Linked DNA regions of Homo sapiens: region 1 is linked to region 2. Evidence: promoter capture Hi-C in 16 types of primary human blood cells and fetal thymus (Javierre and others, 2016). All regions are on one chromosome and are shown on one strand. Each heading gives the region's core, a stretch centred on a gene start or on the middle of the fragment in contact. The rest is flanking DNA. Distances are from core to core; before and after follow the strand shown.

What was found. The method cuts DNA at HindIII sites, captures the fragments that hold promoters and counts their contacts. A CHiCAGO score of 5 or more calls a contact.
Region 1: a fragment that was not itself captured here is called in contact with the fragment with the promoter of AGTRAP in region 2 in 1 of 17 cell types (erythroblasts); the score reaches 5.8 in erythroblasts.

Annotation. Positions count from the first base shown.
Region 1 is chr1:11,795,073-11,799,487 of GRCh38, reverse strand. MTHFR (methylenetetrahydrofolate reductase) reads left to right here. Exons shown (of 12, transcript NM_005957.5): 5 at 3,089-3,282; 6 at 4,140-4,390. Among named protein-coding and RNA genes, the nearest start is that of MTHFR, 8.7 kb to the left of the region's middle. The HindIII fragment of the contact is 888 bases long and covers 2,722-3,609 here.
Region 2 is chr1:11,734,724-11,742,209 of GRCh38, reverse strand. AGTRAP (angiotensin II receptor associated protein) reads right to left here and starts at 6,074. Exons shown (of 5, transcript NM_020350.5): 1 at 5,975-6,074. The coding sequence starts at 6,001. The HindIII fragment of the contact is 3,809 bases long and covers 4,970-7,486 here.

The sequences.
Region 1 (4,415 bases), core at 1,916-4,415, 60 kb before region 2:
CCCATCTCCGCTTCCCACTGCACATCTGTGCTTCATCTGGGAGACCTGATACCCATGCTTTTCCACACACCTGGCCTGCTCCTGAGTGTGCAGAGTGTCAGTTCCAGCCAGTTCCCCAGGCTAATGGACAGGCCTCCGTTCCAAATTCCCAGGAAAGAGAATCACCATTGGCCACAGCCACAAGACCAGGTTCCCCCAACAGAAATGGGTGGGTTGGACTTCTCTCCCACCCTTGAAGCTGAAGGCTGGCATTGAGCCCTCAGCGTCTCAGACAGCGCTCAGGTATGGCAAGACAGTGTGCACCAGGGACAGGAAGTCCCGGGATTGGCACATTTTCTGGGATGACAGTTTTTTTGCCAATATTCTGGGAGAAATCCTACCATTTTTATATTAAACATGGCTATGTTATGGAGTAGCATCTAAAGTGATATGAACTAAAAAAAAAAGGCCAGGTGCGGTGGCTGAAGCCTATAATCCCAGCACTTTGGGAGGCCAAGGCGGGTGGATCATGAGATCAGGAGTTTGAGACCATCCTGTCCAACATAGTGAAACCCCGTCTCTACTAAAAATACAAAAATTAGCCGGGCATGGTGGCGCGTGCCTGTAGTCCCAGCTACTTGGTAGGCTGAGGCAGGAGAATCGCTTGAACCCAGGAGGCGGAGCTTGCAGTGAGCCGAGATCGCACCAATGCACTGTAGCCTGGGCAACAGAGCCAGACTCCGTCTCAAAAAAAACAAAACAAAAAACCCAAAAAACAAACCACGTGGCTTCAAGAAAATTACATGTTGTGAGTAACTTTGGCCTTGTCCCTAACCCCCGATGGACATGTCCATTCTGTCAACAGGGGTGTTTAGGTGCTAAGTCTGGGAAGCACTGATTAGGAGTCAGAGAACAGACATTTCCAACTGTTAAATTGTCATCGCTTGTATCAGCCATTATATAGTCAGTTACTGGGGGAATATGCACCCGTGATGGGCGTTAGGTGATAATGATTGGAAACTAGTGAAGCTGTGAGCTCACAGTTGCTGAATGGTTTCTTACTTTGCTTATCAAGTGGGTAATGAAGATGAGTGGATTAGAAAACACCAACCTGTTGGGCATGGTAGCTCATGCCTGTAATCCCAGAGCTTTGGGAGACTGAGGCAGGAGATCAAGACCAGCCTGGGCAACACAGTGAGACCGTGTCTCTACAAAAAATAAAAACATTTTAAAAAAGAAAGCCCTCAGCTGTTCATGATAGAAAAATAGAGTAAATAGCAAAATCTATACGTAATCAAATGCTAGATTTGTTCGGTGATATTTAGGTATTGTAGCTATACTTTTCAGCTATTAAAAAGCCTTGTTGTTTCTGAAATTCCTACTGGGAAAATAGCTTTGTTATTGCAAGTGTGAAGCCCCATTGCTTTATCCCCCACTCCCTTACCCCTTGAAACAATAGTTTTTATATTCATTTTTTGATGACTCTGGGTTTCTTAAGAACGGAACTGCCTTATCAGAGCAAAGCAGCTTGGCCTTCCGCCTGGCTCAGAGTCCTGCCCTGGGCTTGGGCTGATGAAACCAGCACTCCATGTAGTTTCATGAAGGCCTATGGTCATCCTGCTTGCCTGACCGAGCAAGGCGGCTAGTAAGTTTAGTCATTGAGGAAAGGGGTCAGAGAGTTCACAGAGCCAGTAAGGAGCCTATGGGACATCTGATCCCACCTCCTAAGCAATTCTGGAATCTTGTCTTCAGCATCCACTGCCCCTGTGTTTTCAGACTCCAGGAGCTCATTGTTTTGTGAGTGGCTTATAGTACTCTAGCCAGCTCTCTGAACCGGATGCTGGTTCTGCCATTAGAAACAACACAGAATATGACTAATAAAGAACTTCACTAGGGGGCTGGGTACAGTGGCTCATGCCTGTAATCTCAGCACTTTGGGAGGCCAAGGTGGGAGGATTGCTTGAGCCCAGAAGTTCCAGACAAACCTGGACAAGATAGCAAGACCCCATCTCTAAAAAATAAATAATTAATTAAAAAAATTTTTTTTAATTAGCCAGATGTGGTGGCTTGCATCTGTAGTCCAAGCTACTCAGGAGACTGAAGTGGGAGATCACTTGTGCCCGGGAGTTCAAGGCTACAGTGAGCCATGATTGTATCACTGCACTCTAGCCTGGGTGACAGAGCAAGACCCTGTCTCTGAAACAAAACAAAACAAACTCACCTATGGTGGATCCTTTTTCCCCAGGACAGACCTTTGGACATTTGAAAGGAGTTTCTGTATTCTTTTCATTCTTTTTTTTTTTTTTTTTTTTGAGACGGAGTTTCGCTCTCGTTGCCCAGGCTAGAGTGCAATGGTACGATCTCGGCTCACTGCAACCTCTGTCTCGTGGGTTCAAGCAATTTTCCTGACTCAGCCTCCTGAGTAGCTATTACAGGCATACACCACCACACCTGGCTAATTTTTGTATTTTTGGTAGAGACGGGGTTTTACCATGTTGGCCAGGCTGGTCTCGAACTCCTGACCTCAGGTCATCCTCCTGCCTTGGCCTCCCAAAGTGCTGGGATTACAGACATGAGCCACCGCACCCTGCCATCCATTATTTTCTTTGAAGAAAACATCACTTTCTTCAGTTCTTCCTTGTGTAACTTGGTTTTTAGCTTTTCACTATCTTGGACCCCTGAGTAATTTCAGTGTTACATTAAAAACAATGTTTAATCCGGTGCCTAGAGAAAAGTCAAGCTTACTACCCCAGATGCTGCCCAGCCAGTGCTAACTGTAGCATTTTCTCTTTTCTATGGCCACCAAGTGCAGGCCTGATTTGCTTGGCTGCTCAAGGCAGGACAGTGTGGGAGTTTGGAGCAATCCACCCCCACTCTTGGAACTGGGCTCTGAGCCACCTCCCCTGAGAGTCATCTCTGGGGTCAGAAGCATATCAGTCATGAGCCCAGCCACTCACTGTTTTAGTTCAGGCTGTGCTGTGCTGTTGGAAGGTGCAAGATCAGAGCCCCCAAAGCAGAGGACTCTCTCTGCCCAGTCCCTGTGGTCTCTTCATCCCTCGCCTTGAACAGGTGGAGGCCAGCCTCTCCTGACTGTCATCCCTATTGGCAGGTTACCCCAAAGGCCACCCCGAAGCAGGGAGCTTTGAGGCTGACCTGAAGCACTTGAAGGAGAAGGTGTCTGCGGGAGCCGATTTCATCATCACGCAGCTTTTCTTTGAGGCTGACACATTCTTCCGCTTTGTGAAGGCATGCACCGACATGGGCATCACTTGCCCCATCGTCCCCGGGATCTTTCCCATCCAGGTGAGGGGCCCAGGAGAGCCCATAAGCTCCCTCCACCCCACTCTCACCGCACCGTCCTCGCACAGGCTGGGGGCTCTGGGTGGAGTGCTGAGTTCGCTGAGTTCTTCCCAGATCTCCTCTCAGGTCCAGAACTTGCACAGCGTTGCTTGGCCACCCCATTTTGGTTACCTCTAATTTTCCCCCCAAAACCCAGCAACAGTGTCTGTTGAGGGGTTTGTTGTACTTTGGCCAACAAGCATCACCAAAAGGGATTCTAATTCTCATTACAAATCCTGCTTAAATCAGTGTTTCCCAAAGGTGGCTGTCATCAGAACCACTTGATAAGCTTTTTCAAAAAGTGGATCTCCAGGTCCCACCCCTGGAGGTTCTCACTCAGTAAATCTGAGGGAGGTCCTCGGAATGTGTGTTTTACTTCTTGAGCTTGGCAGGTGATTCGGATGATCAGTGCAGCATGGGAACAGCTGGGTTAGATGACACCATGTTACCAACAGACACATCTAGGGCTAAAAGGCTGGCTCAACCCAAGGCTGGAATGCTTAGGGCAGCTGCTCTACTCTGTAAAAAGTGGGAAAGCTGGGCATAGTGGCACGTGCCTGTAGTCCCGGCTACTTGAGAAGCTGAGGCAGGAGGATGGCTTGAGCCCTGGCGTTTGAGAGCAGTGAGACTCAGTCTCTAAAAACAGAAAAAAGAGGAGAAAACGGCAGGCCAAGCCCAGGTGTGCTCCTAGAATATGATCGGACTTTCGTGGGTCCCTCTGCCTGACACTGTGGTTGGCATGGATGATGGAAGGGGGAGAAGTATTTAGGGTGGGAGACGGGCTGGCCAGCAGCCGCCACAGCCCCTCATGTCTTGGACAGGGCTACCACTCCCTTCGGCAGCTTGTGAAGCTGTCCAAGCTGGAGGTGCCACAGGAGATCAAGGACGTGATTGAGCCAATCAAAGACAACGATGCTGCCATCCGCAACTATGGCATCGAGCTGGCCGTGAGCCTGTGCCAGGAGCTTCTGGCCAGTGGCTTGGTGCCAGGCCTCCACTTCTACACCCTCAACCGCGAGATGGCTACCACAGAGGTGCTGAAGCGCCTGGGGATGTGGACTGAGGACCCCAGGTGAGGGCAGTGGCCCAGAGATCCC
Region 2 (7,486 bases), core at 4,825-7,324:
ATCAAGACTCCACAGGTAGCAAGTGGCAAAACTGGAATTAAATTTCAAACTCGCCTCCAAAACCAGTGCACCCAACCTCCCCGCTGGGGGCGCAGGCCTTCAGCTGGGAACTGTTTGGGCTTGTGAGAAAGGTCCACACATGGGGGCAGATGGAATCCAGAGCTGGTGGCTGAGATACTTCACCTTTACCTCCAGGGCCCAGGGCCAGAGTGAACCACAAGGGGCCTGGCTCTGTGGCCCAAAAGAAATTCCTTTCTCAGCTCCAAGAGACTAGGAAAATAATTCTGTAAGGACCGATGCACCCAACTTTAAGATCTCGAGACTCTGACCAGGCTGAGTAGTGTGTTACAGAAGTCTAGCTCTAGAAGGAATCTTCGCCATCACCTCACCTACCTTCGTCTACTATTGAGCGCTTCCTATGTGCTAGGTGCCATTCTAAGTGCTTTCTGTATATAAATGCACTAAATCCTTACAATCCTCTGAGGTCTTATTATCCCCATTTTACAGCTGAGAAAACTGAGGCTCAGAAGGAAGTAACTTGCCCAAGGTCACAGAGCAGGCCAGTGGCAGAGCCAGGACTCAAACCCAGGCTGTGCTGTCCAGCCATTAGGCCTCTCCCCATTACAAAGATGGGGAAACTGAGGCAAGAGAGGTGTAGTCTTCCATGGATTTCAATCCCCAGGGGCTTGAAGTGATAAACGGTGTTAAGTTTCTTAAACATTTAGTGTCACCCAGCATCACTGGCACCTGCTTTTCATTCACCCTGGGGAGTCAGAGGTGTGCAGAGCAGATTCGGAGCTGCGCTCTCAGTACTGACCTCGCTAACCAGGTACTCTGCCCTAGGAATGGAGGTGCAGTGAACCCTCATCCCGAAGGAAAGCACCTGATTGAAGGAAAGCATCCTGAAGGAAAGCAAGGGAAAGGGCACCTGATTGAACAGCAGGGAGGCTGGGAGGGTTGGGGTGGTCAGGGGCTTCTCTGAGGAAGGGATGGGGGAGGCTGAGGGGGAAGAAGAGCATTTTGAGCAGGAGGGGCGGCACTCACAAAGGCTCTGTGGCAGAAGGGGGGCGTGGAACTTTCTGGAAACTGAACAGAAGCCAGTGTGGCTGGAGTGGAAGGTGAGGGGAGTGGAGGAGGGAGGGACAGGAAGTTGGGGGCAGGCAGGGCTGGGCATGAGGACGATTCTGATCTTTATCTTCAGAGCTAACCACTGTCCCCTCCATCTGATAGTAAACCCTGGACCACAGACAGGAAGGAACTTGCTCAGGGCCACACCGCAGAGTCAGCCACAGTGGTCCCAACATCCAGCTTTTAAAGAAGACACCGAGGAAAGAGACAGAGGGAAGGTAGCTCCCATCACCCCTTTCCTCCCCAAAATCGACACCTAACTCTTCCCACTCTGGGCTTGTTTTGGAAATGATCTTCATTTTCAATGCTCTCGCTCCTATGCCTAGACTGTACACAGAGTAGGTCTTTAATAAATGGGCCCTGCAGAGCCCTGGATTATTCCGGAAAGAATGGCAGTTAGCATGAAAGGCTGAGTCCCAGGGGGGCCTCTGATCCGCAGGATACCCTAAGGGTCATGCTTACAACCTATGAGGTAAAGGCTTTTCCTAGCGCTGGAAGGGCCTGTAATACAGAGTGAGCACCCAGCTGGGCCCACACCTCTGCCATCTCTGTTAGGGAAGAAAACAACGTAACCTGGAAATACTGCAGATCCTTAGCACACACACAGTCTCCTCTGCGTGACGTCACTTTGGTTTGATAAATATGAACAAAGTTAGCACCAGTTGCTCCTCTTAAGCCCCTGGGAAAAGAAACGTCCAGAAGCCTAAGCCTCCCCTGCCTCAGTTTCTTCATCTGTGTAACAGGAGGACACCCAGAGAGGCCTTAATGTGCAGGAAGACTCCAGGGAGAAACTGAGCCAAACGGGCCCTGCACTTCCTGGCAGCCCAGGGAAAGAGGGGCCAGTAACTGTCAGGACAAAACCACTGTCTTTTGGCCCTGGGGGAGCTTCCTGGTAGCCAAAGAGACACAGGATTCTCAGGTATGGCCTGAAAGAGGAGCTGGAAGCAGGGAAGGAACCTGAGCTAAACGGGTGGCAGGGCCAGGACCTTTCCCAGCTGGGCAGGAAGGACGGACCTGAGCCCCTGGACTCTCACTACAGTGCTCAGCCCAGGGGAGGCCGCCCAGCTCTTTCCCAGACAGGGGTCAATGGACCAAGGCAGCAGAGGGTCCCAGGATGCTATGCTGGAACAGGAAACCTGGGTGCTGGTCCAGGCGCCAAGGCCTCAGGCTCCTTTCTGCGAAACGGAGGCAGTACCCATTTGTCCCACGGGGGTGCCTCAACTGCCAGAGACAAGCATCTATCTGGACGGTCACTGTAAGTATCCGTTTACTAACTGTTAAATACCTATGTGGGGCAGGGATCCTGCATCATCAACGACAGCAGCAACTCCTGCTACTGACAAGCACCAGCCTGCCATGCATCTACACTGCACTGCCCCTAACTCATGTCATCCGTGTAACTGTATGGGGTAGAACTGAGGCTCTGAGAGATTAAGTAAATTGGCCCAATTCATAAAGCTTACAAACAACAGAGCCCAGACACAAATGTCAGAATCAATCTATCCAGCCAGAGTTTTTGTTTGTTTTTTTGAGACAGAGTCTTGCTCTGTCGCCCAGGCTGGAGTGCAGTGGTGCGATCTCGGCTCACTGCAACCTCTGCCTCCCGTGTTCAAGTGATCCTCGGTGCCTCAACCTCCTGAATAGCTGGGACTACAGGCGAGCACCACCACACCCAGCTAATTTTTGTATTTTTAGTAGAGGTGGGGTTACATCATGTTGGCCAGGCTGGTCTCGAACTCCTGACCTCAAATGATCCACCTGCCTGGGTCTCCCAAAGTGCTAGGATTACAGGTGTGAGCCACCACGCCTGGCCCAGCCTGAATTTGTAACCCTAATTCTAGACTACGTCCTGGACCATGGATCCATCATCCTAGGAGGTAGGGACTGTATTTAACTTCTTTTTACAATGAAGAAATAGATACTGAGAGAGTTCAGAAACCTACTCAAGGTCACACAGAAACCTACTCAAGACCTTGAATGCAGACCTGCCTGCCCCCAAAGCCTGTGCTCTGTCCACTGTGCTACACCGTCAGGATCTCGAAGAGCCGTAGAGGGCAGATGGAAATGAGGAAGTCTAACCTGGAGAAGGAAAGGCTGAAGAGAAACCAGCAGGGCATGCAGACCAAGACTTAAACCCTTTGTTTGCCACTAGAGGACCCATGGCGGGGTAGGACTTCCCAGAAATGGAATAAACTCCTACCAGTCCTGTGCAAACACTTGGTGGCCTGTTACACGTGCTAGTGAGATCCCCCAGGGTGGCCGGGGCCCAGGGACACCAGTCAGGGCTGCCAAGGATGGGAGGCAGAGTTGTGCAGCGGTTAACTTCGTGGGTACTGGAGGCAAACAGGTGGATCTGATCCTGGCTCCATGACTTTAGAACCTAGTGACCTTAGGCAAGTCACCTGACCTCTCAGAACAGCTGTTGGCTCTTCTGCAAAGAAGGGCAATACTGCCTGATTCAGTGTTGTTGTGTGGATCCAGTGGTACAGGGAGGTGGAGAGGTGTGGGAAGCGCTCCACACAGTGCCTGTGAGGAATTCAGCCCTCCATCCCAGCAGTCCTCATTACTGAGTTTTTAACCCAAATGCTACACGACTACCTCCTAGACCACCAGATCCTCCTCCCAAGGTCTTCTTCCCACAAGACCTCTGTACCCTAGTCCAGTCCTTTCTAAGCTCATCACAATGTCATTCTTGCAGCTCAGGACCTGGCTTCAAGAGACATGGACAGGGCTTGGTCAGGAGCTGCCCTTTGTGCAAAGGGCCTGGGGCAGTTGTTTCTTCTCACCTGGCACCACTGCCCACTCTGGCTGAGCTGGGCAGAAGCAGGCACTCAGCCCTTGCCCAAGGAATATACAAAACGAGGGAGTGGGGAGGGAGTGCAGGCCACAGGGAGCAGTTCCCCACCTCCTGAAGGGCTCTGAACTCAGAACATCCCCTAAGTGCCTATAAGCAAGGAGTCAACAGCTGCCCTCCACAGGGTGGCCAGATCCAGCAAACAAAAATACAGAACACCCAGTTAATTTCCAATATCAGATCATGAATAATTTGTTAATATGTCCCACATATTGCCTGAGACTTACTCATACTAAAAAACTGTTCGTTGTTGATCTGAAATTCAAATTCACCTGGATCTCCTGTACACGACCTGACAACCCTGACCCCTCAGGGCCTTCCAGCACTTTGTTGTCTCTGACTGGTAGCGGCTAACACCCTTGGAGACTGGGGTCTCGTTTGCCAAGTCAAGGGGAGGACCAGCCTTTTCATCCTGGGTACCGAAAGCCAGCATAGCTCATACCTGTGGATGCTCTTAGCCTGTCAGGCCCAAAAAGTTGCTCAAAAAAAGCCCCAAAGAGACTAAGCCCTCCCAAAGGACAGAAACAGCCAACGTTAAAGTCAGCCCTAAGCTGGTACCCCAGAAAGGACCTGGCCCTGGAGTCTGATCCCTATGGGTTCAAATCCTGATATTGCCACTTACTCCCCGTGGGACCTTGGCAATTTACCCAGTCTAAGCTGAAGTTTGCTCATCTGTAAAAAGATGACCATATCAGCTTTCTCATAAGGCTGCCTTGATTAAATAACCTGGCACACCACAGAAGCCCATAAATTAGAGCTCTGTCCCTCCCACTGCCCTCACCTGATCCTCTGTCAGCAATTATTTTAAGCAAATCCCTCATCAGAGAAAAGGCAGTTGGTGTTAACCCCACATTGCCTGGAATAGAGTGCATATTGATACCAACAAGCCTCGGCTGCTGTCACGTAAATTTCTTCCCAGCTGAACGTTCCATCCAAGCCCATTCCCTTGCTCCAGCCATGTCTCCCCACCACCTTTGACTGGAAGCTTCAGGAAGGTTTGCTGAAGCAAGTATGATTAAGAAGGGAAACATGCCTATAGCAAGTCATAGCACAGATGTTGTGTAATAATAAAGTGTATTAAGCCATTGTTTTGTAACCATCTATTTCTCAGGTTCCTTTAGTCCCAGACACCAACAGGGAGCTAAATGCTCTGTCATTCATGAGTAAGAGGACATTCCTGGATATTGCCTCAAAGGAGGCTGCACTAAGACCCAAAATGGCCGGTTTGGTCCAAGGTCCACACCTTCCTGACCAAAACTACAGCCCCTAGCCCCTCTAATGCAAATGGAGCCCAGACACGTGGGCGGCGGGGCTGGGCGGGGAGAAAAAGAACAGCCGCTGGCACCCAGACCCGGACTGAGCTCACGGCTCGGGAAATGAAGACACCACAGGAAGCCCTGCAGTGTTTTCCCCAGTGCACAAAGTTGGGGTTTTCTGCTTTTAAGTAATTTCTGTTGGAGTTCGCGCTTCTTGATTATGAAATAAGGGCGCTGGATGTGTAAACTTTATAAAACCAACTGCTTGGGAACATCTGATTTCCTTAACCCGACTTAGCAAACAAGGAGGCTCCTGAAACGGTGCTGGGACCCGGGGGGCAAGCCCAGTCCCTGACCCCGCGCGGGGGAGGTGAGCCGCCTACAAGCCCCTCCCGCGCACCTTCCTCCTCCTCCAGGGGAATTCTGGGCGTGCAGGCAACAGCAATGCTGGGACCGGCGCTGCCCGCTGGGAGGGTCTGAGTCCGGGAGGGGGCGGCCCTTGCCCTCCGCTGCCACCTCCCACGGCCCCTCAGTGTCGCCCTGCTGGCCTGTGCCTGGATCACTCTCCCTGCTGTGGCCTGCCTGCCCATCTCCTTCTTGCGTGGGGTCTGTACCTTCCCTTCCTCCCTACCATCCCTCTTTCCCCAAAACTCCGGTCCTTCCTCCCACCTTCCGGGAAAATGCAAATGTCCCACTTCCTCCCGCAAAGGGGACCCTCCCCCCAGCCCGTCGCCACCTTCAGGTTCACAGCAGGCAGCTCCATCCCGACTCAGGCCGAGGGCACCTGCGCCGCAGCCGCGGGGGGCTCCTAGGCTCCGAACTCGGGGAACAAACTTGCCCGGCCCCGCCCCGCCCCGCCCGTTGCGGCCACTCCAACCCCAGCGCAGCTCAAGACCACGTGAAACGGGCTGGAGCGGGTCACGTGACCGCCGCTTGGTTGCTAGGAGACGGCGTCGGCAGCTCGCGCCTTCAGCCAAGCTCCAGACTCCCGCCACCGCCCAGGCAGTACTTGGGGGCCGCTGGCGAAAGTTGGAGTTTCTGTCGCCCAGGGCGTATCCTGCCTGGCTAATATTCCAGGAAGCGGACTGTTCGGACTGCCTGCAGCCAGGACAACTGGGGGACCGTCCAGGCGCAAAGTGCTGATGTGGCAACAGCTTGTGTCTCATCCTTGGGGGCACCCTCTCTCCTTCCCACTTCCCTGTGTAAATGGGCTATTTAGGCTACCTACCTCATATGATCCTTATGAGGATTAAATGAGCTAACTGCTGTTGTTAAAGAAAACGTTATTGGGACTGTTGTTAAACCAGTACTGTTCAAGACTTGCTGTAGGGTTATTGCCATGGAGTGAGAGTTTGGGCTCAACACCGAATACAACAAGGACCAAGGAGGGATTTATAGCCAGAGCAGAATGAGGGAGCAGGAATGGAAGATTCCTAGGAGGAGACATCAAGGATGGGGGAGTTCTTGCTAACTTAGCAGGACTCTTGCTGAAACTGGTTTATTATGCAGGCTCAGGCCCAGCAAGGACAGGAAGACACAGAGGTCCAAGGCCGAGGCCTAGTCAAGATGAGGACTCAGAGGAGTCTAACTACGGTTTGTTCTAGGAGAGAACAGTGCCCGGCACTTAGTAAATGGGCAGGACACACAAGCTATTGTTATTACCAACACAAGATGAGGCTGGGCGCAGTGGCTCACCCCTGTTATCCCAGCACTTTGGGAGGCCAAGGAGGGTGGATCACCTGAACTCAGTAGTTCGAGACCAGCCTGGCCAACATGGTGAAACCCCGTCTCTACTAAAAATACCAAAATTAGCAGGGCATGGTGGTGTGCACCTGCAGTCCCAGCTACTCAGGAGGCTGAGGCACGAGAATTGCTTGAACCGGGGAGGCTGCAGTGAGCCGAGATCACGCCACTACACTCCAGCCTGGACGACAGGGTGAGACCTTGTCTGGGAAAAACAAACAAACAAAAAGCAACACCTGAGGAGCCAAATTGGTGGGAGCCCACTTTAATCAGCATACCAAAAGTTTTAGAAAACTCTAGCTGAAAAACCATAAGAAATTCCTCCCCCAATTGTACATGAGGAAAGAAAGGGCTGTCTCCTGCCTCACCTGGCACCTCCCTTAAAGATTGTTGACCACCACATCCCCCCACCGCAACAAGAACATTAATCCGCTCTACCTCCAGGTCCCTTCCTAACATCAACTTTCCTTTAGAGAACACCAGCTTTTGTTTAGTGTCACCTAGG